Regions from separate parts of the Homo sapiens genome. Here all the other regions are linked to region 4. Evidence: promoter capture Hi-C in human tissues and cell types (Jung and others, 2019). All regions are on one chromosome and are shown on one strand. Each heading gives the region's core, a stretch centred on a gene start or on the middle of the fragment in contact. The rest is flanking DNA. Distances are from core to core; before and after follow the strand shown.

Region 1 (2,700 bases), core at 86-2,585, 330 kb before region 4:
CCAAATTCTCCCCATTATTTAAAAAAAACCACACACACAACAAACTCTGGAATGGGCACCCTTCTCTTTGTCATTTTTGTTATTTCCATAGGATAGATTCCTAGATTAATTGAAGTGTTTAAGGCTCTTTATGTACAGCTTAATTCATTTTCAACATTGTACTAAACACGCTTCCTCAAGCATAGCAGTGCGTAATTCTCCACAATCTCCCCAGCACTGATATTAATAATGTAAGGCATCTTCTTAATCATGTGTGACTTTGCATGGTGCTTTAGACTTCTAGACATTCTCCATCCTCGTTGATCGTCTCAAGTTCAGATATAAAATTTCTGCCTTGATTCTAACACAGTGTACAGGGCCTACACTATATTCTGGGTGACAAGATGGCTTGGCTTTCCTTTCCTTCTCCCCCTGCTCCTAAGCTGGTCTCCTCACCTTTATCAAGTGCTATTTTTTCAACCATGCTTTATTGTGTAGGGGCCAAAGGGAAAGTTCCTCTTTGCCCTCTGAAGGTTCACTGAAAGCCAACTCATAAAAGGCAGATTTTTGGAGAAAAGGCAAATAAATGGATTATTTATTTATTTATTATTTATTTTTGAGATGGAGTCTCGCTCTGTCACCCAGGCTGGAGTGCAGTGGCGCGATCTCGGCTCACTGCAACCTCCGCCTCCCGGGTTCAAGCGATTCTCCCGCCTCAGCCTCCGGAGTAGCTGGGACTACAGACGCCCGCCACCACGCCCGGCCTTTACCGCCAGTTTTCACACAGAAAAGCGGGGGGAACATCAGAGTCGTGTTTTTAGGTTTTGTGGCTGGCTTTGGGGGTCTGGCCTCTGGGACTCGCCTTGGGTAAAAGGGATTCACTCTGTGAGGAGCCTCGCGGGAGAAAAGAACTGAGACTGGAGGCCTGGGAAGGTCAGAGGGAAACTGCCTCCCAGGCCTTCATTTTGGGGCGTTGTGTTCTGAGCCCCGATAATTGTAACATCTTCATAAGCGACTTTCTGGTGGTTATGGTGAATCGGGACACACGATGTATGGTGACCGACGGGGGAGCCGGGAGCCCAGCGGGGTTAGGGTTCAGGTGAGGGTTTAGGGTCGGGGCGAGCGCGGCGCGGCCCGGATGCGCAGCGTCACCGCGCCAGACCCTCCGCTCAGCTGCCGTGGGCTCTCCCCCTCCCCGACCATAGACGGCGCAGGCCTCCAGTCATCCCAGAGCGGCCCCGGAAGAATCCGGGCGGAACCGCGGCTGGCTTCCGGTTCCCGGCGTTCTCGGAGGCGTACTGAGGCCCCGCAGGGGGCGGGGAAGCCTGCGTGTGCGCAGCTCGGCCCGGCCCGCCCTCTTCATCCTAGCCCGCCCCCTCCCCGGCTCTGGACCCGGTTCTGTGGGAGGGTCCGTTCCGGGCTCGGTGCGACTGCGCAGCTCCTCGGCGCTTCCTCGGTGGCTTCCCCGGGTCGAGCAAACAGGTGGGGCAGTGTCGGACCAGGAAGGAGCGCCAAGCGGGCAGGCAGGCGGGGAGGGCGCGGGGAGGGCGCGGGGAGGCGGCGGCCAGTCCAGGAGGAGCCTGTTCTGGGTGCCGCGGGAGCCACCGACGGGCTGCAGAGGCCGGGAGGAGGCGACCGCGGCGCGGCCCTAGAAGGCTGGACTGAGGACCACAGCTGGCTTCCGGCCTCTCCCCGGAGCCTGGGGCCTTCGGCAGCATCCCCGCGGCCTCCTTCTCACGTCCTCAGCCTTGGTGAGGCTGCACCCTCACGTGGCTCTTTGCCCCAGGTTGGCCAGGCAGGTAGAACGGCCCTGCACCCCATTTCCAGGGCCTTCAGCAGGTCTGGACCACGGGAACTGCCAGCTTTCACCCCTTAGCCGGGCGTCCCTGGATCCCCCCGGGCTCTGGCTCTGGCCGTTCTGGGATTTCAGGAGTCACTGAGCAGTAGGGCACGTCGGCCCGTGCTGCATAGTGACCTGCCTCCCGCGACCCAGGAGGCCACAGCAGCAATCAGCTTCTGCCTCCTGGCCATCCTTCCACACCCCTGGTTGAATGGGGCTGAGCCTGAGTTCTCCCCACTGAAGGTAAGTTCGGGGAGACTTCAGGCCAGGGCAGTCTCCTGTCTTCTCTTGGAAACCACAGCAGCCCATGCACACAGAATGGCAGCCACATTCCAGCTTCCAGGGCACCAGGTGAGTTAACCCTCCTTCCTGCCCACCTCTTCATCTTCATCCCCATCCCAGTCAGAAGCTACTCTCCTCTGGAGCCGTGAGCCCGGCAACTGGTAAGGCCAGCCAGGGGCTCATAGCAACCGTGAGGAAAGGGTTCTGAGAGGTAGACTCGCCCTCCTGCAGGGAGAGGGGCTCTGAGCTCAGCTGGGTCCCCGTGTAGCTGAAGTTGGCTGGTCCTCAGCGCTCTCAGCTGCCCCATCAGGGACCTGCTGATACACAGTTCATACTGACCACAGCAGGGCCCTGGGTAGTGGGGCCCCACCAGGTCAGGGCCCTTTTAGTGCAGGCTGCTGCCCCGTGGGCATGGCCTGGGCAGCGGCGATGTTTTGTTGCAGGAGATGCCGCTGACCTTCCAGGATGTGGCCGTGTACTTCTCTCAGGCGGAGGGGCGGCAGCTGGGCCCCCAGCAGCGGGCGCTCTACCGGGATGTGATGCTGGAGAACTATGGGAACGTGGCCTCTCTGGGTGAGGCTCTCTGCACTTGGCCTGGT
Region 2 (2,700 bases), core at 49-2,548, 400 kb before region 4:
TTTAGAGTGTATGTGTGTGTGGCATGTGTGACTCACTCCACAAAGCCGTAAGAAGTGGATGCCACGTGCCAGGCACTGAGTAATGGGGATACAGTAGTGGACACGAGGACCCTGCCTTCACGAAGCAGTCTGGCGGAGGAAAGAGTTAAATAACCACACAAATAAGCACACTGCAACCACGACAGCGCTCAAGTACAGGGAACTATGAAAGCCACTTAGACTAGAACGTTCAGTGTAATGGGTCACTTCCCCAGGGACCTCGGCCAAGGTAATGGAGGTGGAGAGAGCACTCCAGGCAGCAGGAATAGCATGTGAAAGGGCCTGAAGCAAGAAGAAATGGGGTTGGATGAACCAGTGTGGGTAAATTCCCGGCAGCAAGGGAAGGCAGTGAGCGACTGGAGGTTGGGGAAGGCAGTGAGCGACTGGAGGTTGGAGAAGGCAGGAGCAAAAATGACAAACTGTAGGGAAGACAAGAGTGGACATGGAAACCCCTGCCCTCAAGTACATAAATTCCAGTCTCCAGCTCACCTGTCGCCAGGATGGAACCAGGCACAGGGATGTAATCTGATATAAATCGTTCACCTCAATTAAGCCAATGACCCCAGACCCTCTACCTGCCCAGGCATTCCCCCGGGAGGTCGGAATGGGAAAAAGAGTCTTCGTATGGCAGCTTCTGGCCCAGAAAGTGGTTTGTGGGTGGAAGCCCCAGGTCACCGGCACAGGTAGGCTGATCCCCCCACCTGGCTCCTGACAGTAGGAATGCCCGGAATAGCAACCAGAATTTAGAGAAGACAAACAGCCTACCCCACCCAAGGCACCGTTCCTTCCTCCACTGTCACTTATCCTAGGCCTTCCGGGGCAATAAATAGAAAGAGAAAAGGCTCTAGAAGGAGGTGATTTCGCAGGAGGAGTCAGGGCCCCGGGAGTAGACCCAGGCCTGAAGAAAAGGCCGCAGCTGGAGCTCGCCTTACTCAGGCCCCGGACACCGTGGCCGCCACGAGCGGGGTCTGCGGGGAGCTGCGAGACTCGGCCAAACGAAGCCCACCTCGCGCCGCCGCGGGGGAGGGTGGCTGGGCTCGACCACCTCCCACACCAGGCGCTCAAGGCCCCGCAAAGCCCCCGCGCTTTCCCGCCTGGAGGCCCGGGGGACGCGGGGACCCCAATGCCGAAGGCGGGAGGGCTAAGGAAGCGACCAGGGATCACTCGGACCGAGGGCAACCCGAGTCCGCGCCCGCCGCGCCGACTCACCCTCCCTGAGGACCACCCGAGGCTCGCAAACGCGCGACGCCGCCGGAAACGGGCCTTGGCCACCCGCGTCCGCCCCGCCCCGCAAACTTCCGGCCGCCCTGGGCCGCTCGGAGGCCCGGCCATCTCTGTGGTTCTCAGCCCCGCCTCCCAGGCTCCGGAGAAGGGGTGGAGTCAGAGCCGAGGAGGGGCGAGGCTGGGGCCCGAGGGACAAGAACCTGGGCGGGACCAGAAGCCCAGATAGGCGGGGCTGGCGCCTGGGGGCGGGGTACAGTCAGAGGCGGGCAGGGGGCGGAGCCGCGAGGGAGAGGAGGGCCCAGAGCCCGGAGTGGGCGGTGCCTGAGCAGGGGCGGGGCGGGGCCGGGGCCTGGAGCTGGGGACGCGGGCCGGGGCCGGGAGTTGCGGACTCGCTGGCGGGTGGGAGGAGCGGAGTCGGGGCGAGGCTGGCGGAGATCCAGGGGATCGCCCGGTTGGGCCCTGCGCACCCCGGATCACCAGCTTCGGGCGCTGGTTCCCACCGAGGCTGTTCAGGCGCCGCTCCCCCGCGTCCCTGCGACAGGAGGCGCCTGCTGGGCGCGCTATGGACCCCGCCTCGCGGAGACGCCTGGCTCGGGCCTTGTCCCCAGTGAGCGGCTGGAGCGGCCGCGGGGTCGCAGAGCCTCCGGGACCCCGAGGAAGGGCGCCCCTCGGAGTTGCCCGAGGCCGGGCCCGGCGTCCACTCGCCACTCGCCTCGCCCCTCCCCGGCCCCGCACCGCCCTCCACCCCGCCTCCTTCGGGTTCCTTCTGCGTCCGGCAGAGCCTGCGCGCCTCCCCCGGACGGCCACGGACTCGCAGCCTCGGCGAGGACGCTGCCTGCGTCCCGACTGCCTGGACCTCCCCGCGTGGCTCCCGGCGAAGCCCAGCAGCCGGAGGGTGCCAGGTCCGCCTGACGCGCCCCTCCCCACGGGAAGAACGGGGCGGGGGTCCAGGAGGGACGTAAGCCGGGCTCCCCCGGCGTGTTGATCCGAACCCGCGCGGGAAAACTTGCGCAAACCAAAGGAGGGAAGAGTCAGGCAGCCCCCAGCCCCCCAGGGAGGCCCAGGTGAAAAACAGACGCCGGCCTCGCCTCTCCCGGTGCGGATGATCCCGGCACTCCCACCCCCGCCCCTGCTGCCCCGAGTTCGGCTCCCTCAGCCCCACATCCTCTCTGGTCATCTAAGTGGACTGCAGCTGCTCAGGGAGCATGTCGCGAAGGATAGGGAAGGACAGGGGGTCTGCTTCCCCAGCCGCCCTCCAGACCCCCAGGGCTGGTAGGGGCCGGCAACCCTATGCCCCAACCTGGCCTGCTGCAGGTGAGGGGGGCACACCAGGGTAACACAGGAGCAGGAGGGGGAGAAAGCCTGGCTAGAGCATCCACCTCATAGGCACCTTCCTTGTGTCCAGGGTGCAGATGCCAGGGCTCTGAGGCCCTGAGG
Region 3 (2,700 bases), core at 184-2,683, 300 kb before region 4:
TGGGCCCCGCGCCTGGAGGGGCTTTAGGCCCGGTGGATAAAACATGGCTCTCCACTTCCCTGTTTGGTTCCTGAGTTCTCTTTTGGCACTTTTCAGCCGACTCTGGTGATGTACGAAGGGAGAGGCACTGCTGGGCCTGCCATACAGCTGCACAGTGAGTGAGCGGCCTCGAGTTGGTGGGTGAGGGCACCCGCTCCTGGGAACAACGCCAGCCCTGGGTGGGCTCAGCCCTGCCTGCAATGTTGAGAAACTGTTACAATTGAACATCTTTATCTGAGTAGTCACAAAAAACACATGTAACCTGTTGATAGCCTGATGAGAGATCTGTTTTGGTTTTGGTTCTTCAGAGACAGGGTCTCACTCTGCTGCCCAGGCTGGAGTGCGGAGGTGCGGTCTCAGCTCACTGCAGCCTCCACCTCGTGGGCTCAAGCTCTCCTCTCATTTCAGCCTCCCAAAGTGCGGGGATCACAGGCGCGAGCCACCATGCCCATCCCAAGAGATCTATTTTTAAGCGGGCAGTTACGTTGATATGAGACATCAGGGAGGACCCTGGCATTTAAAAGGAATCTTAGGCCGGGTGCGGTAGCTCACGCCTGTGATCCCAGCACTTTGGGAGGCCGAGGCGGGTGGATGGCGAGGTCAGGAGATCGAGACCATCCTGGTTAACACAGTGAAACCCCGTCTCTACTAAAAATACAAAAAATTAGCCGGGCGTGGTGGCGGGCGCCTGTAGTCCCAGCTACTCGGGAGGCTGAGGCAGGAGAATGGCGTGAACCCGGGAGGCGGAGCTTGCAGTGAGCCGAGATTGCGCCACTGCACTCCAGCCTGGGCGACAGAGCAAGACTCTATCTCACAAAAAAAAAAAAAAAAATAAAAATAAATAAATAAAAGGAATCTTATATGCTTGCTAAAAGGGCACTACGCATGGAGAAAATGACATAAAATTTTGTTTTCGTTTTTATCCCAATTTTTCTTTTGACTTTTATAACCAGGAGCTTTAGGAGTAAACTCGTATTTTTAAATTTTAACATGAATATAGGTCAGGCACACTTCATTTTATTCCACTTCACTTTGTTGTGGCTTTGCAGATACTGCTGCTTTTTTTTTTTTTTTTTTTCCATAGATGGAGTCTTGCTCGTCGCCCAGGCTGGAGTGCAATGGCGCGATCTCAGCTCACTGCAACCTCCGCCTCCCAGGTTCTAGTGATTCTCCTGCCTCAGCCTCCCAAGTAGCTGGGATTACAGGCGCGCGCCACCATGCCTGGCTAATTTTGTATTTTTAGTAGAGACAGGGTTTCACCATGTTGGCCAGGATGGTCTCAAACTTCTGACCTCAGGTGATCTGCCCCCCTGGGCCTCCAAACTGTTGGGATTACAAGTGCGAGCCACTGCGCCTGGCGAACATTTTTTTTTACAAATTGAAGGTTTGTGACGACCTTGTGTTGAGCAAGTCTGTCAGTGCCATTTTCAACAGCACGTGCTCACTTCTTTGTGTCACATTTTGGTAATTCTTGCAGTATTTCAAACCTTTTTTTTTTTTTTTTTGAGACGGAGCCTTGCTCTGTCGCCCAGACTGGAGTGCAGTGGCGCGATCTCGGCTCACTGCAAGCTCCGCCTCCCGGGTTCATGCTATTCTCCTGCCTCAGCCTCCCGGGTAGCTGGGACTACAGGCGCCCACCACCACGCCCGGCTAATTTTTTGTATTTTTAGTAGAGATGAGGTTTCACCATGTTAGCCAGGATGGTCTCGATCTCCTGACCTCGTGATCCGCCCGTCTCGGCCTCCCAAGGTGCTGGGATTGCAGGCATGAGCTACTGCGCCTGGCCTCAAACCTTTTTTTTATATCTGTTATGGTGCTCTGTGATCTGCGATCTTTAATGTTGCTATTGTAATTGTTTCAAGGGCACCATGAACTCTGCCTGTATGAGACGGTGAGCTTAATCGATGAGTGTTGGCTGTCCTGACCCACTGATCAGCCATTCCCTACCTCCCTCTCTCTCTCCTAGGGCCTCCATATTCCCTGAGACTCAGCAATATCGAAACTAGGCCAATTAATAACCCTGGAATGGCCTATAAGTGTTCAAATGAAAGGAAGAGTCACACACCTCTCGCTTTATTGCAAATGTTAGAAATGACCAAGTTTAGTAAGGAAGGTGCGGTGAAAACTGAGACAGGCCAAAGCCAGGCCTTTTGCGTCTGTTAGCTAAGTTGTGAATGCAAAGCAAAACTTCTTCAGGCGTGGTGGATCAAGCCTGTAGTCCCAGCTTCTCAGGAGGCTGAGACAGGAGGATCGCTTGAGCCCAGGAGTTTGAGGCTGCAGTGAGCTATGATCACACCACTGCACTCCAGCCTGGGTGACAGAGTGAGACCCTGTCTCAAAAAGAAAATAACAGTAAAAAGTAAAGTTCTTGAAGGAAATTGGGAGTGCTATTCTGGTGAACATATGAATGACAAGAAGGTACAGCAGCCTTATTGCTGATATGGAGACAGTTTCAGTCCCCCTCAAACTGTCTGGATAGAAGATCAAACCAGACACATTCCCTTAAGCCAAAGCTTCGCCTCAAGAGCAAGGCCCCAACTCTCTTCAATTATGCGAAAGCTGAGAGGGGTAAGGAAGCTGCAGAAGAAAACCTTGAAGCTGGCAGAGGTTGGTTCATGAGGGTTAAGGAAAGACGTAGTCTCCATAACAAAAGCACAAGGT
Region 4 (2,700 bases), core at 58-2,557:
GTGAATGTGCACGAAGCGGGGCTCTGCTTTCTTCCTGTGCCCCCTCCCCTTCACCTCCCAGGGCCAGGCCGCCTTTTCCAGGAAGGCCCCCGAGTGCTGGTGTGAGACCCCTTCCCCACACCTCAGTTCCTGGCATCTGTACCTTCCCACCCAGCTCCCTGAATTCCTGAGCTTAGTGTTCTCTTGATCCACTCAGGCCCACGATGTACAGATTTGCAAGCAGATCCATTATGTCCTTCTTATGGGTGGGGAGACTGACGTGTAGGCATGGACTTTGAGATCGGGCACTGTCAGAGGTAAAGAAGGGAGCCACCCTTCCTCCTGTCTGACCGCTGGCTGTGCAGATGATCCCACCCCTTCCTGGAGAGTCATGGGGCCTCTCCGGAGCTCTGCCCACTGCCCCTCGCTACAGCCCTGGGGCCCTCAGCGAAAGCGAGTTTGTTCCCTGGAGCCTGCCGCGGGCACCAGGACGCCGCCGGCCCCCGCAGCGCTGAGGTCTGCCCTCTTCCCCTCCGCAGGCTGCGCCGTCCAGGGTCCCCTGGGCCTGGGCCTGTGGGACAAGATAGCCGCGCAGCTCCGGGAACTGCAGCTGTGCAGCAGACGCCTCTGCGCTGAGGACAGGGACGCCCTGCGCCAGCTGCAGCCCAGTCGGCCGGGCCCCGGCGAGTGCACGCTGGACCACGGCTCCAAGCTCTTCTTTCGGCGCCTCTGACCCTGGCGCTGCCTTTCCCCACCCTCACCGAAGCCCCTAATAAATGAAGCTGCTGGCCGGGCGCGGTGGCTCACGCCTGTAATCCCAACACTTTGGGAGGCCCAGGCGGGCGGATCACGAGGTCAGGAGATCGAGACCATCCTGGCTAACATGGTGAAACCCCGTCTCTACTAAAAATACCAAAAATTAGCCGGGCGTGGTGGTGGAAGCCTGTAGTCCCAGCTACTCCGGAGGCTGAGGCAGGAGAATGGCGTGAACCCGGGAGGCGGAGCTTGCAGTGAGCCGAGATCGCACCACTGCACTCCAGCCTGGGCGACAGACCGAGACTCCGTCTCAAAAAAAAAAAAAAATAAAATAAATGAAGCTGCTGCCTCCCTCCCCGTGGCTGCCTGGCAGGCGGGTGGGCGGGGTAAGACCGGGCTTCGAGTCTGCTGCGCCGGTTACGTCCCGGGGGCTGCGCGGCTGGAGGGAATGTCCCGAAGTCCGGGCGGGCGCGGGCGCAGGCGTGAGGGCTGAGCGCCGAGCTGCCGATGGGGACGGAGGGGCGGGGGGTCGCCCCGACGCGCGCAGGCGCAGACATGAGGGGCGAATGCCGAGTCGCTGACCGAGCGCACCCCGCCCCCGGCGCCATCTTCCCGACCGCGAGCCGTCCAGGTACCCGGGGCCCGGCCGGTGGGCGGGGAAGGGGCAGAGTGGGGAGAGGCGACTCAGGGCCTGGCACCCTCTGGGCGCGCCTAGGCCCCGGCACAGCTTCGGCTGAGCGCCGCAAAAGTCACGTTATTGGCATGTTCTAGAAACTGGCTTTCCTTGCTCGTTGTCCACTCTGCGAGGTTGTTTTGCACATTTGCTTGTGGCCGCAGAACGTCCGCTTTCGCTGTTAGGCAGAAGCTCCTGCGTGGTTGGGGCGGTTGGCTCCTCGGCGCTCTCCTGCCTGGCGGCTCCGTGACGGCTGCCGAGCAGCCTCGGTCCCCACCCCGCGGCTCGCAATGGCCTCGACCCTCGGAGAGCTTGACCCAGACGTTCCCTACCTACATGAGCGGCGACGCCCTTTCCCGGCTCTTCCTCGGCTGGGGCGCCCCAGGGCTTCGGCGCGGGCGGCCTTCCCTCACTTCTGCTCTTCTCCCATCCCCGGTAGCACCGTCCACTCCCAGTTAGCCGGCTCAGCGCTGCTCTCCCGGGCCTCTCCACCGAGAGCTTCCTGCGCCTGCCCGCCAGGCCCGCTCCTCCTCCCCTCTCCGTCTGAGTTTATCTTACTGCCCGGCCCATTGGGCCAAAAACAGGGGTGTCGTTCGTAACTCCTTTATTTTAATCCTATCTCAAATCCCTCGGCGGATCTGACGGCTCCACTTTCAAAGAGAGAACGTCTGGAGCTGGCCCAGCTTCCGTGCTAGGCAGGACCCTCCCACGGGCCCCGCTCCCATTGTTTCTCCACAGCTCGCTGCCCAACTAGGGGCACCTCTCCATCTTCATTCCCTAGGACCCCCTCTTTCGAGAAGCTGCACCTTCAGCTTGTTGGTTCCTCCAAGTTCATGCCTACTTAAAGGCGGGCTGTTAAGTGTGTTGTTTCCTGTGCCCCAAACTCTCCTCGTGGGCCATCAAACAGCTGCCTGCCGCCCTCATAACCTCCCTCAACCTCCAGCTTGAACCACACTCCACTGCAGCCCCCGCCCCGCTCTCCTGAGTGTCCATAGTACCTCACTTTTTCTGGTAGCCCCTATAGCACCCTGTGTGTTCACCATTATTGAGCTTAGGAGAGCTCTTCATGGAGCCCTGGGTCTCCAGGACCTGGCACTTACGGGCTGTCTTTTTTTGTCGGTTTTTTTTGTTGTTCGTTTGTTTGTTTTGAGACAGGGTCTTGCTCTGTCTCCCAGGCTGGAGTGCAGTGGCTCGGTCTTGGCTCATTGAAACCTTCACCTCCTGGGTTCAAGCGATTCTCCTGCCTCAGCCTCCTGAGTAGCTGGGATTACAACCGTATGCCACAACGTCCG
Region 5 (2,700 bases), core at 96-2,595, 350 kb before region 4:
ACTGCAACCTCCACCTCCTGGTTTCAAGCGATTCTGCCTCAGCCTCCTGAGTAGCTGGGACTACAGGTGCCTGCCGCCATGCCTGGCTAATTTTTGTATTTTTAGTAGAGACAGGGTTTCACTGTGTTGACCAGGCTGGTCTCAAACCCCTGGGCTCAAGCGATCCTCCCACCTTGGCCTCCCAAAGTACTGGGATTATAGGTGTGAGCCATTCTTTTTTTTTTTTTTTGAGACAGAGTCTTGCTCTGTTGCCCAGGCTGGAGGGCAGTGGTGTGATCTCGGCTCACTGCAACCTCTGCCTCCCAGGTTCAAGCAATTCTTTTGCCTCAGCCTCCCCAGTAGCTGGGACTACAGGTGCACGCCACCATGCCTGGCTAATTTTTGTATTTTTAATAGAGACGGGGTTACACCGTATTGGCCAGGCTGGTCTCAAGCTCCTGACCTTGTGATCCGCCTGCCTTGGCCTCCCAAAGTGCTGGGATTACAGCCACTGTGCCTGGCTGACACTGCTTCTTAACAGAAATGATAGTGTGTTCTGCTGTGCAGACACGGAATGTGTTTCCATTTCTGTGCGCATGAGTCTCAGTCATGTCTTCAGTGCAAGTGCAGGCCAAAAGATTGGATAGCTCTGATGGTCACCTTTTTGCATGTGTCTGATGGTGTCTGAGGAAGGAACTGCTGGCTCAAAGGACTTCTTATTTTGTAAATTTGCTTATTTGAATGTAAATATCTATAGAAATAGGACAAACCCTAAGTTTATAACTCAGTGAATTTTTATGAAAAATCATCCTTCAGATTAAAATACAGACTGTTTCCGCTCCCCAGGAGCTCCCTGGCTCTCCTCTGCCATTTCCCACTGCTCCCCACAGGGGTCTTCTTTCTGACTCCTGTCACAAGAGGCTGCTTCCTCCTTTGGATTTTTCTGTGTAGACTCACACAGGGCATCTTTTGCTGAACACTGTGAGAGCTGCTTGTGTTTCATGGAGTAGCAGTGTGGTCTGTTTGGTTGCCATTGTTCTATTGTATGAACACACCACAACTTATGTTCCCTTCTACTTGTGGAGGACATTCAGTTGTCCAGGTTTGGGGTTGTACAGGAACTGCTGTGGACACTCTTGTGCATGTCTCTCTCTGGCGCCCGGAATACATTTCTGGCGCGTGTGTACCTGGGAGCAGAGTCACTGAGTCAGCATTTTCATAGATCAGCTTTAGATAAGGTTGCCAAGCCGTCCTCCAAAGCAGCAGCTCCAGCATAGGCTCCTGTAGTAGTGTGTGAGCACCGTCTGCTGCACATCTTGGCAGATATTGGTGTTCAGCACCTGTTCATGTGCAGTGCAGAGCCAGGCAAGGGGTGGAAGGATAGACCCCTTAGGACTAGGAAGAGAGCAGTAATGAAAGTGGCAGTCATGAGGTGCTTGCACCTGGAACTCACTGTGCTGGGCACTGGGCTGAGTGCTTCATGGTCAGTCTGTTGTATTAATCTGTTTTGTTCTCATGAGAGTGCCATGTGGTCACAGATGGAGAAACCAAGGCTCAGAAAGGTAGGTGAGTTGTTGCCTCAGGTGACTCAGCTGGCAAGTAGGGGCCAGGACTAATCAATCCTGACTGTGGCTGCTGGTATCAGTCTCTGAGCGGCCATGTGGCAGGACCCCACTTGGGTACTTGTCACTCTCCATTCTTGGGGAGTGGCCACCCAGGAGAGGTTTGTTGTGTGAGTGTCAAATCAAGGAAGGAAGGAGTGAATGTTTGAAGGGCTGTATGACTGTGGCCCCAGGTGAGCTGCATAAGCCTCTGAGCTCCAGGCTCTTATCTTTGCAAGGCTGTTGGGACTTTGGAGATGATCAAATTGGTTCCCCACAGGTGGCCAGCAGCATCTCATGCCTACCTTCCAGAGTCAGAGCAGGTGACCCTTAGATGTTCTGTTTTTTGTTTCAGCTCTTGGGACCAGAACTGAGTACAAGGAGTTGACTTCACAGGAGACATTTGGTGAGGAAGATCCCCAGGGATCTGAGCCAGTAGAAGCCTGTGACCACATCAGTAAGTCAGAGGGGAGCCTGGAAAAGCTAGTGGAGCAGAGAGGCCCCAGGGCAGTCACACTGACCAACGGGGAGAGCAGCAGGGAGTCTGGGGGAAACCTCAGGTTGCTGTCAAGACCTGTTCCTGATCAGAGACCTCACAAATGTGATATATGTGAGCAAAGTTTTGAACAGAGATCATATCTCAACAACCATAAGCGTGTACACAGGTCAAAAAAAACAAATACAGTTCGTAACTCTGGGGAAATCTTCAGTGCAAACTTAGTTGTTAAAGAAGATCAGAAAATTCCTACTGGGAAAAAATTGCATTATTGCAGTTACTGTGGGAAAACATTCAGGTACAGTGCCAACCTTGTCAAGCATCAGCGGCTTCACACTGAAGAGAAGCCCTACAAATGTGATGAGTGTGGGAAAGCCTTCAGCCAGAGCTGCGAGTTCATCAATCACCGAAGGATGCACTCAGGAGAGATTCCCTACCGGTGTGACGAGTGTGGGAAGACATTCACCCGGAGGCCCAACCTCATGAAGCACCAGAGGATTCACACTGGGGAGAAACCCTACAAGTGTGGGGAGTGTGGGAAGCACTTTAGCGCCTACTCTTCCCTGATTTATCACCAGAGAATCCACACCGGAGAGAAACCCTATAAATGTAATGACTGCGGGA

The links. The method cuts DNA at HindIII sites, captures the fragments that hold promoters and counts their contacts. A contact is called where the count stands out against the background at its distance.
Region 1: a contact is called between the fragment with the promoter of ZNF251 here and the fragment with the promoter of VPS28 in region 4, in 5 of the 25 tissues and cell types used here (IMR-90 fibroblasts, dorsolateral prefrontal cortex, lymphoblastoid cells and 2 more).
Region 2: a contact is called between the fragment with the promoter of ZNF7 here and the fragment with the promoter of VPS28 in region 4, in 1 of the 25 tissues and cell types used here (spleen).
Region 3: a contact is called between a fragment that was not itself captured here and the fragment with the promoter of VPS28 in region 4, in 3 of the 25 tissues and cell types used here (dorsolateral prefrontal cortex, lymphoblastoid cells and spleen).
Region 5: a contact is called between a fragment that was not itself captured here and the fragment with the promoter of VPS28 in region 4, in 1 of the 25 tissues and cell types used here (dorsolateral prefrontal cortex).

The regions. Positions count from the first base shown.
Region 1 is chr8:144,754,166-144,756,865 of GRCh38, reverse strand. ZNF251 (zinc finger protein 251) reads left to right here and starts at 1,335. Exons shown (of 5, transcript NM_138367.2): 1 at 1,335-1,461; 2 at 2,063-2,170; 3 at 2,545-2,674. The coding sequence starts at 2,138. All of the region lies in intron 2 of LOC107986986 (a long non-coding RNA gene), which reads right to left. The HindIII fragment of the contact is 22,211 bases long and covers 1-2,700 here.
Region 2 is chr8:144,826,158-144,828,857 of GRCh38, reverse strand. ZNF7 (zinc finger protein 7) reads right to left here and starts at 1,298. Exons shown (of 5, transcript NM_003416.4): 1 at 1,249-1,298. It overlaps LOC100130027 (a long non-coding RNA gene), which reads left to right and starts at 1,818. Exons shown (of 5, transcript NR_147501.1): 1 at 1,818-2,700. RefSeq lists enhancers at 69-594, 595-1,120, 1,121-1,646 and a silencer at 978-2,107. The HindIII fragment of the contact is 13,991 bases long and covers 1-2,700 here.
Region 3 is chr8:144,727,507-144,730,206 of GRCh38, reverse strand. All of the region lies in intron 4 of ZNF251 (zinc finger protein 251), which reads left to right. Among named protein-coding and RNA genes, the nearest start is that of ZNF251, 27 kb to the left of the region's middle. The HindIII fragment of the contact is 6,507 bases long and covers 1-2,700 here.
Region 4 is chr8:144,427,155-144,429,854 of GRCh38, reverse strand. VPS28 (VPS28 subunit of ESCRT-I) reads left to right here and starts at 1,307. Exons shown (of 10, transcript NM_016208.4): 1 at 1,307-1,366. It overlaps TONSL (tonsoku like, DNA repair protein), which reads left to right. Exons shown (of 26, transcript NM_013432.5): 26 at 519-1,080. The coding sequence ends at 712. RefSeq lists a silencer at 1,132-1,481. The HindIII fragment of the contact is 10,135 bases long and covers 1-2,455 here.
Region 5 is chr8:144,773,841-144,776,540 of GRCh38, reverse strand. It overlaps ZNF34 (zinc finger protein 34), which reads left to right. Exons shown (of 6, transcript NM_001286769.2): 6 at 1,936-2,700. Among named protein-coding and RNA genes, the nearest start is that of ZNF34, 12 kb to the left of the region's middle. The HindIII fragment of the contact is 3,662 bases long and covers 1-2,700 here.